Linked DNA regions of Homo sapiens: region 2 is linked to region 1. The links are contacts of gene promoters, found by promoter capture Hi-C in blood cells and fetal thymus (Javierre and others, 2016). All regions are on one chromosome and are shown on one strand. The core of a region is centred on a gene start or on the middle of the fragment in contact, and the rest is flanking DNA. Distances in the headings are between cores, read along the strand shown.

The links. Contacts are between HindIII fragments. The CHiCAGO score rates a contact against its expected background, and 5 or more counts as called.
Region 2: a fragment that was not itself captured here is called in contact with the fragment with the promoter of GINS3 in region 1 in 1 of 17 cell types (endothelial precursors); the score reaches 5.2 in endothelial precursors.

Annotation. Positions count from the first base shown.
Region 1 is chr16:58,389,850-58,394,184 of GRCh38, forward strand. It overlaps GINS3 (GINS complex subunit 3), which reads left to right and starts at 2,622. Exons shown (of 3, transcript NM_022770.4): 1 at 2,622-2,938. The coding sequence starts at 2,753. RefSeq lists enhancers at 2,261-2,838, 2,445-2,934, 2,839-3,415. The HindIII fragment of the contact is 2,062 bases long and covers 1,390-3,451 here.
Region 2 is chr16:58,447,071-58,451,405 of GRCh38, forward strand. All of the region lies in intron 2 of LINC02137 (long intergenic non-protein coding RNA 2137), which reads left to right. Among named protein-coding and RNA genes, the nearest start is that of LINC02137, 28 kb to the left of the region's middle. The HindIII fragment of the contact is 3,618 bases long and covers 673-4,290 here.

The sequences.
Region 1 (4,335 bases), core at 1,372-3,871:
CAAATATACTGTGAATATTATCAGTATAATGCAATTCTGTTCAGCATAATACTGGTACATTGATTGGTTGGCTGGGTGCCAAGGAACACAGCTTTCTCAGGGAACAGAAATACTCCTGGTTCTTAGGATTTAAGCTATTAACACATATCTATGCTTGAAAACCACATGCCACTTTTGTTAAATGAATTGATGCAGTTCAGCATCATAAGCTCAAACATTCACTAATTTCACCTTTTTCTGATTTATTCACTTGTTTATTAGTTCAAGGAGAGGACAGTTTAAATAGAACAATATATACACAATGATAGTTTCATGATGAGCCAAGACATTAAGTAAGACAAACAAGGCAATCTGATTTTATGTTAAACATTGGCCTGTTACTGTATTATTAAAATAATAGTGGTATTTGAGTTTGGAGCCAGTATTGTGGTCTCTGTACAAAAATAATGCCTTTCTTTGGCATCAATAAATCAGTATGCATCTATCTTAATTATATCAGCATAAAAAATAGCTTACTCTCCTTGGCAGTAAATAACATTGCCTTCAATTAGCCAAATTATATTTCTGTCTCAAACTACATCCAGTACCATATATTCCATGTCATCAGAGAAATTCTAAATTATCACTGCAGATTGTGTTTATTTTTACATTGGACTGTATCACAAACTGAACATTTAAAATATGAAAAAGGAAAAAACCTTCATATAACTGCCTCTCAGTGTGCCTCCTCTCTAAAGCTTCTAGGCTGCTTTCTCCACTGGGCTGCAGACCTTCCTGTCTAGTAGCTCTTGGACACCATGTGTCCCAAACTGAACTCATCCCTTCCCTCCAGCTGCCCCTATTCCTGTGTTCTGTGTATCTATTCATGACATGTCCATCCACCTGGTCAGCCACGTTCAAAACTTGAATCTTTTGACTACTCACTATACTTCACTTCCTATATCCAATTGGTTGCCAAATACTGCCCACTGAACAGCTTCCAAGCATCTAATCTCTCTCTTCTTTATCTACTGCTGGAATTCTCTTCCTGAAGCCCAGATTTATGTTATTATTTGCCTTACATTTTCCTCCCATTTTCTATGGAATGGCCTAACTCCTTAGAATGGTACCAAGATTTTCCACAGTTTGGCCATTCCTTTCCACCCCACTGCACCTTGTTTTCATTGTCCTCAGAATTTCATTTATAAAGGTGACTGGGTGATGACAATCAATGAGTTAGTGGCCAATGCCTTTGAAAATTTTATTATAGTTCTCAAGAGAAGGGGCTGTGCCTACGGCCACACGAGAAAGTATTAGGGTCAATGAGGAGGTAGAGAGAGCGAGGAGAAAGCCCAGAGCCTTTATTGCCGTGGGAAGGAATGGGCGAAGCAGGGAAGGGAAGTCTGAACAAGCTTAGGATTGAATAATTTGAATAATGTTGGCAAGCTCTGGGATATAGAGGTGAATTTTAGTTGTCTGGTACTTGGCCATGGGGTGGTTTATTACAGTGACTTGGGGCAGGGAAAATATTGGTGTGTGAGATGGATAAAGATGGTGTGGGGATATAGGCTTGGGTTGGTTGGTTTGTAAATGAAAGGGGTGTTCACAAGCAAGTTGTTTGCTATCTCTAGGAATTAGCTAACTCTGAAAGGGGCAATTCCTCCCCAGGTCCCCAAGGCCCCAAGATGTCAAAGCATCATAAAATACAGAAAACAGAAACTAAAATCCATGGTTAATACACACCTCCCTTCACACACACCCTTTACTCCCGGCTCCAGTAGCCCCAGAAATGCTCTAGACGAAGTAAGTTCTGTAGTGCATCTCTCAACAATATGCCGCCACCCATAGCCCTGGCTGAGGAGAGCCACCAAACCTGGTACTATGCGACCATGGTCCTTCCCCTGGTCACTGGATAGTGATCGCACCCAACACAGGCACCCCCATCTACAGGGTGGCTGGAGATCTATGACCATTGTGGCGTACCTGGACCAATCAATAAACTGGACCAATTGGATTTCCATTTTTAGGGATTTAAATTCAGAGCCACAAAAGGAGATTGTCAGTTGATGATGAGCTAAGACACCCTGAAGTATACTCACAACCTTAGCAAGCCATGTGCAGTCTAGTGCTCCACCCCTCTACCCACCCCGTCCAACCCCCACCAAAATACTAACAAAATACAACACACTAGTTCATCATCTAGACCATAATAACTCGCTGGGGATAGTGCTGGAAGTTTTTGTTTGTTTAACATTTCTTTCAAATACTAAGATTAACGGAGTTGCATAGTGAAAAAAACTGTAGGAAAGGGTCGGACTTAGGCCTGGAGTGAAGGGCACAAGATGCTTTTATTTTAAACCCCTAAAAGTGTTGCAAAGTGTTTTTAATTTCATATAAATAGTTAAGGATCACATGAACACAATCCAGTACAAATGGGTCCAGGAGCTTCAACGAGCGTTCCAGCTTCTTCGTAACGTTCCCACACCGTGCAGCAAGCGGAGGGAAGAGAACTTCCGGCGCCCCCACCTACCGCTCCCCAGCCGTGTCCCGCTGCTCTAAATCTGCAGACTTGATCGATTGCTTCTGCCTGGGCGGTACCGCCCGAATTGACTGCTCCTGTCTGATGCGTCCCCGGGCGCGGGAAACGAGTTTCAATCCACTTTCCTGACCCCAACCATCCTGCCCAGTCTCCGCTTCCCCGTCTTGTACACCCCTAACTCCTGAGGCTCCTCCGAATCACGCGAGTGGAAGCGGAGAAGCTCAAGTGGCCGCCATGTCAGAGGCTTATTTCCGAGTGGAGTCGGGTGCGCTGGGGCCTGAGGAGAACTTTCTTTCTTTGGACGACATCCTGATGTCCCACGAGAAGCTGCCGGTGCGCACGGAGACCGCCATGCCTCGCCTTGGCGCTTTCTTCCTGGAGCGGAGCGCAGGCGCCGAGACTGACAACGCGGTCCCACAGGTGAGCCTTTGGGTGCGGGGTCCTGCCCGGAAAGACTGCAGCTCCCGGCGGGCCCCTCGGCCCTGGGACGCCGCATCGGGGCGCGCTGCCCTTTGGGATTTGTAGTTTTCGAGGAGCCAGGGCCGAAGGCGCTAACGACTTCTCGGAAACTCCGCGGGGGTCCCTTCGCGCTCGGGGTGGTCTCCAGACTTCTTGTTCGCCATCTGTGGTGAAACTACATTTATCCTAGGTCGCCAGGCAGCCTCCAACATTGATTTCTTTTTTGAAACTGTCCAAATTAGTGTCTTCCCCCTACCCCATGCAACGTGTGTTGAATGCTTAAAGATTGGCTCCAGCTGAATACTTAAGAATTAGAGTTCTGATCATGTTTGCCTTAAAACAGCTTTGGGTTCTGTAAGAGCATGTGATAAGTAGGAACCCCAAGTTGCTAAATTCATTCCTCCATAATGATGACAGGATCAGTAAGCCCTACTGAGGCTTACTTAGTGGCAGCATGGTTGGGTGTGGGGAGTAAGCTTTTCCCTTTAATCCTTCAGCAACCAGAAAGGCTGGGTCACTTGGCCAGGGCTTCAGTTAGTGGTGAGCTGGGATTCGGAACCCAAGGCCATATGGCTTCAAATATAAAATTGTCCCAGGAACATGGCTTGTAATGATTAATTTGGATATCCTGTTTCACCTAAGTTTTGTATAGAACGATGTTTATTGTTTGGTCTGTTTGTTTCAAGTTAATTTTTATCAAAGTAATACATAACCAACGTTTTAAAAGTCAAATAGGCCGGATGCGGTGGCTCACGCCTGTAATCCCAGCACTTTGGGAGGCTGAGGCGGGCGGATCACGAGGTCAAGAGATCCAGACCATCCTGGCCAACATGGTGAAACCCCATCTCTACTAGAAAGCTGGGTGTGGTGGCCGGCGCCTGTAATCTCAGCTACTCTGGAGGCTGAGGCAGGAGAATTTCTTGAACCCAGGAGGCAGAGGTTGCAGTGAGCCGAGACTGTGCCACTGCACTCCAGCCTGGCGACAGAGTGAGACTCCATCTCAAAAAAAAAAAAAAAAAAAGTCAAATAGTACCAAAAGATTTATAAGAAAAAAAATAGCAGGTCCTGCCTTCCTTTTCCCACTTCCCCCTCCAAGTCCACAGGGCTCATGTACCTTTTTTAGTGGTGTCTTCAAGATTCATCTTCATATTTCTAAATAATATTCTTAAACTTACCTTGTTGGGTTGTTTTTTTTAATGTAGACATTATCTGTTGACTTCATCCTAGCAGATGAGGATTTCGTTCCCATACACACTGGTAAACATGGCGCTATGCTGCCCATACTTAATTCATATTTCCTTAGTTTTTAGTTAATGCCCTTTTTCTATTCTAGGATTCCACCTAGGATACCACACTGC
Region 2 (4,335 bases), core at 1,232-3,731, 57 kb after region 1:
AAGCAGAGATTGCCTGTGAATGGGCATGAAGGATGTTTTTCAGGTGATGGTAATGTCTCATATTTCAATATAAATTTTCATTACACAGGTGTATGCATCTGTCAAAACTTAGCAAATGTATATTTAAGATTTTTGCATTTATTTGTAAAGTTCATATTAAAAGAAAAGAATGGGTACAATAACTGGTACATTATTTGAGTGATGAATACACTAAAAGCCAAGACGTCACCACTGTACAAAATATATGTGTAACAGAATTGCAATTGTACCCTTAAATTTATAAAAGTAAAAAAAGAAAAAACTGAAAAAATAGTGAGCTTTAATGAATGACATGTGATAGGGGGATGGATGGATGGATGGATAGATAGATAGATCAACAGATAGATTGACCTAGTTCATAATTCTTTACATTAAATTCCCTCTGTCCAAATAACTGATGTGATTTCTGTCTCCCAGGTGGACCTTCATTGATGTATCCATTGAGCAGCCATTCTAGAAGGCAAATCTAATCATGCCATTCCCCTGCTTAAAACCTTTTAATAGTTCCCTATCTTCAAGTTAACCTCTTAGTCCATCATTCAAGGCTCCTAACCATCCAACCAACATCTACAAATGCATACTATATACTCTAAATTGTAATCACAACCAGCAACTTGCTATTTCATGGACACAAGCTTTTCCTATCCCCATCATCCCCAGGTAATTTTGCATATCTTCTTCCCTTTGCCCAGAATGTCTTCCCCACCTTCTCTACCTGGAAAACTCCTATTCTAAGTGTGAGTCACCTACTCTGTGAAGCCTTCCTTGACTTCTTCAGGCAGAGCAAAGATTGCCTCTTTTGGTCTTCCCCATTGCACTCCTAGAGCACTTGTCAAATTGTGTAACTGTTTGCATAACTGTCTCCCCCTAGACTAGGAGGTGCTCAATCCTGAGGCTCCATCCTCATTCCTTCTCGAATCCTTGAAGCCTAGAATACTGACTTGTATAGGGCGAAGCTCAATCCATGTTTGTTGAATGAAAAACACACAAACAGATCCACGCTACAGTCCACTTGCAAATTTACATAAGTCATGCCCGCGGGTAAACAAAAGTGATGTCTAAGATTTAACAAATGATAAAGTTTACATTTTAAAGCTCAAGTTTCATTCTATTTTTAGAAATATATGAACATAATTAATAGCCATGGTCTTGTTTTCTCTTTTGGCATCGAGTTTTGCTCATTTTCAGAGGGGTCTGCTTCTGGGAATGGCTTTAACAAGTTCATAAAAGCCAGACTCATCTGAGGCTTTGCCTAAAGGATAATATTTATCTTATTGAATTAACTTTATTTTTAATCACAATAAATGTTGGTTTGTTTTTTGTGGTTTTGTTGTTGTTTTTTGAGAATCACGCAGGCTGAAGCACAGTGGCGCGATCTGGGATCACTGTAACCTCCGCCTCCCGGGTTCAAGTGATTCTCCTGCCTCAGCCTCCTGAGTAGCTTGAATTACAGGCGCCCACCGCAATGCCAGGCTAATTTTTTTGTATTTTTAGTAGAGATGGGGTTTCACCATTTTGGCCAGGCTGGTGTCAAACTCGTGACGTCAAGCGATCTGCCTGCCTTGGCCTCCCAAAGTGCTGGGATTACAGGCTTGAGCTACTGCGCCCGCCTTAATCACAATACATGTATTCTTATTTTATTATTAAAATTATACAGACTTTGGAAACTACAGTGGAAAATAAAACAGATAAGTATAAAGAAGAAACTAAAAATTCCCTTAAAATCCACCACCTGGATATAACCACTCTTAGCATTTGGTGAACCAAATGCACCAGTAGGAGCTCAAGCTGCTTCTTTCTGCCATGATCTGGTAGGTTATATTTTTCAGGGTTTCAGACTGGCTCTCTTATGTCCTGGCTGACTGCTGAGCCTCAGCACACAGAGAGCCAAGGCCTTGCCCTTGGTGAATAGACACCCCAGTCATAAATCACAGGTCTCCGCTCTGAAATCCATCGGGCTTGTGTGAGCATGAGTTCAAAGAAGAAAACAATGATCAGATAATATCTGCTGAGTAATCAGTCCAATGACAAGTTGAAAAAACACACTCATATTTGAAAAACAGGATTATTGAATTAGCAAAAGGGAACATATTAGACAGCAGGTCTGAGTTTCCAAATGTCTTTTTGAAATAATTAACTCCAGGAAGTAGGGATGGAGTACATTCATTGCAAATGGGAACGGCTGCAGGACTGCTAGCTAGAAGGCGGCCCTGGGGAAGGGGTGTACAGAAGAGGGCTTGGGTGAGGGGCTATCCTATGAAACCAGGCATTTCTACCAATATGAAAAGGCTCTCGGCAGAGTGGTTAAAAGTGTGGGCTTAGAGATCCAGGCTCGAGTCTTTGCTCCACCACTGACCAGCTGTAAGACTGTCAGCAAGTTAAGTTTTAACTTCCTCAAGCCTTGGTTTTCTCATCTGTAAAATGGGAATAATCTAAATTCCTAATTGATGGGATTGTAGTGACAACTATATAGAACTTTTCAGATGGATTCGCAGTCCATGGTGAGCCCTTGAGGCTTGCTGATGATGATTGTGCTTGTTCCTATGAAGAATGAGATGGAAGAAGGGCAGGTGTGTGTTCACAAGGGGCACAGTTGATTCTGGATTAAGAGGGCATTGAATGTGGTGAAGGTCACTGAAATCACTTGAGACCTTAGACTCTTGCTGATTCACTATAGGAAAGAAATCACACAATGAGATTTAAAGCAGATGAAGCCGGCCTCCAGAATCTCTTAAGAAAAAATAAAAGGCAGCGGTGTGTGGGTGGGGGGGTGCTCCTGGTAAACCAGTGAGCTATTGCTGCAAGACTATTCTCCTCCTCTGCCTCCTATTTACCAGGCACCCACTAGCCCAACAAGGCACAGGATGCAATGACGAAATGCTGGCACTTGGGGCTTGTGGCTTCCTGGACACCAATCACACTGTTATCTAAGTTGTCTCATCGCCCTAACAGCAGACTTTTCAAGTTGTGCTCCCAAGACTGGGGAAGACTTTGATGTAGATCCAGCATCACTTACCTGTGCCTCCAGGATGAGGCATCTGCAGAACCAACGTCAATTGACCTGGATCCAAGAACAGTTATGGTGATTGGAAATTGATCAAAATACGGAGATCAACGATGCTCAATAGGAGGAAGAGAGAGATGGCAAGGTCTGGGAAAGCTCGTTCCTTTAATTCTCAGGGTCTTAGGATGGAGGAGAAGGAGCCTGGAGACAGGACTCTGGAAGTCTAGAACTCTTCCCAGGGGTATCTGGGCAATCCCCAACAGAGCACTTGGTCTCTAATTTCTCAGAGTGGCCACCTGCTTTGGACTCACTCAGGAAACTTATTAAGGATACAGATGCTTTGGTGCCCTTGTCCCCAACCAACCAGGGTCCCAGGGTCAGGACTCAGGGGTTTTGTGAGTCACAAGGTCTCCAGATGATTCTGAGACTTTCAACCAGAGACTTTAAAGTAGGGAGGAGAAACCAAGATGCCTGTCCTTCGGCTTTATGTGCTAACACTTGCCAAATGCCTTCAAATCTGAGGAAATGGGAGGGAAGAGTTCAGTTCAAGAAGGGAAAACTTCGGCGATGACCTGGGGTTTTCACTTTTATTTTCTAGAATTCCATAATTTTAGCCATGGCTTTAAGCAACTGCTCAATTCAGCTATTGCCCATTTTATAGACATGGAAACTGAGGTGAAGATGACCAAACTCCTGCCTAAAGCCCAACGAATTCTGCCTGTGGAACCCTGGGCTTCTCCTCTCCTCCTGGTGTTCTTTCTTCCACAAGTTTGTGATCCAAACGCATGCATCGTCAAAAGCTCATTTTCAGTGTTTGCTGTCCCTCAGGCTCTGTGCTGAATGCGTTCTATGCACTCTCATTTAATCTTCATCATGATTCAATGATATAAAGAGAAGGAAAATAATGCTCAGAGAGATTCAGCAATTTGCTCAACATCACACAGCTCCAAAGCTGTGGGATCCCAGGGTTCCCAGGGGCCCTGCTCCCAACCTTAACTCTAGATCTAAGCACCTCTTCCCACCCCCCTGGGTGACAGGGAAGAAGAAAATGACCCTTGCTGGTTACACTTTCAGTTATGAGACCCAGAAGAGGCAATGCAAATGGGTTCAACCATGAGTGCTTAAACAACCCCTCCCACATACAACACACACACACCCTCCTCTCAAGACACACATACACGCACATGCACACACACCATCCACACCCTCTATGCCACCCCTGCACATGTCAGGGTGAGGGCATGGAAAGCTTGGAATTCACCACTACCCTTGCTTTGCTCAGCAAGTCAGGA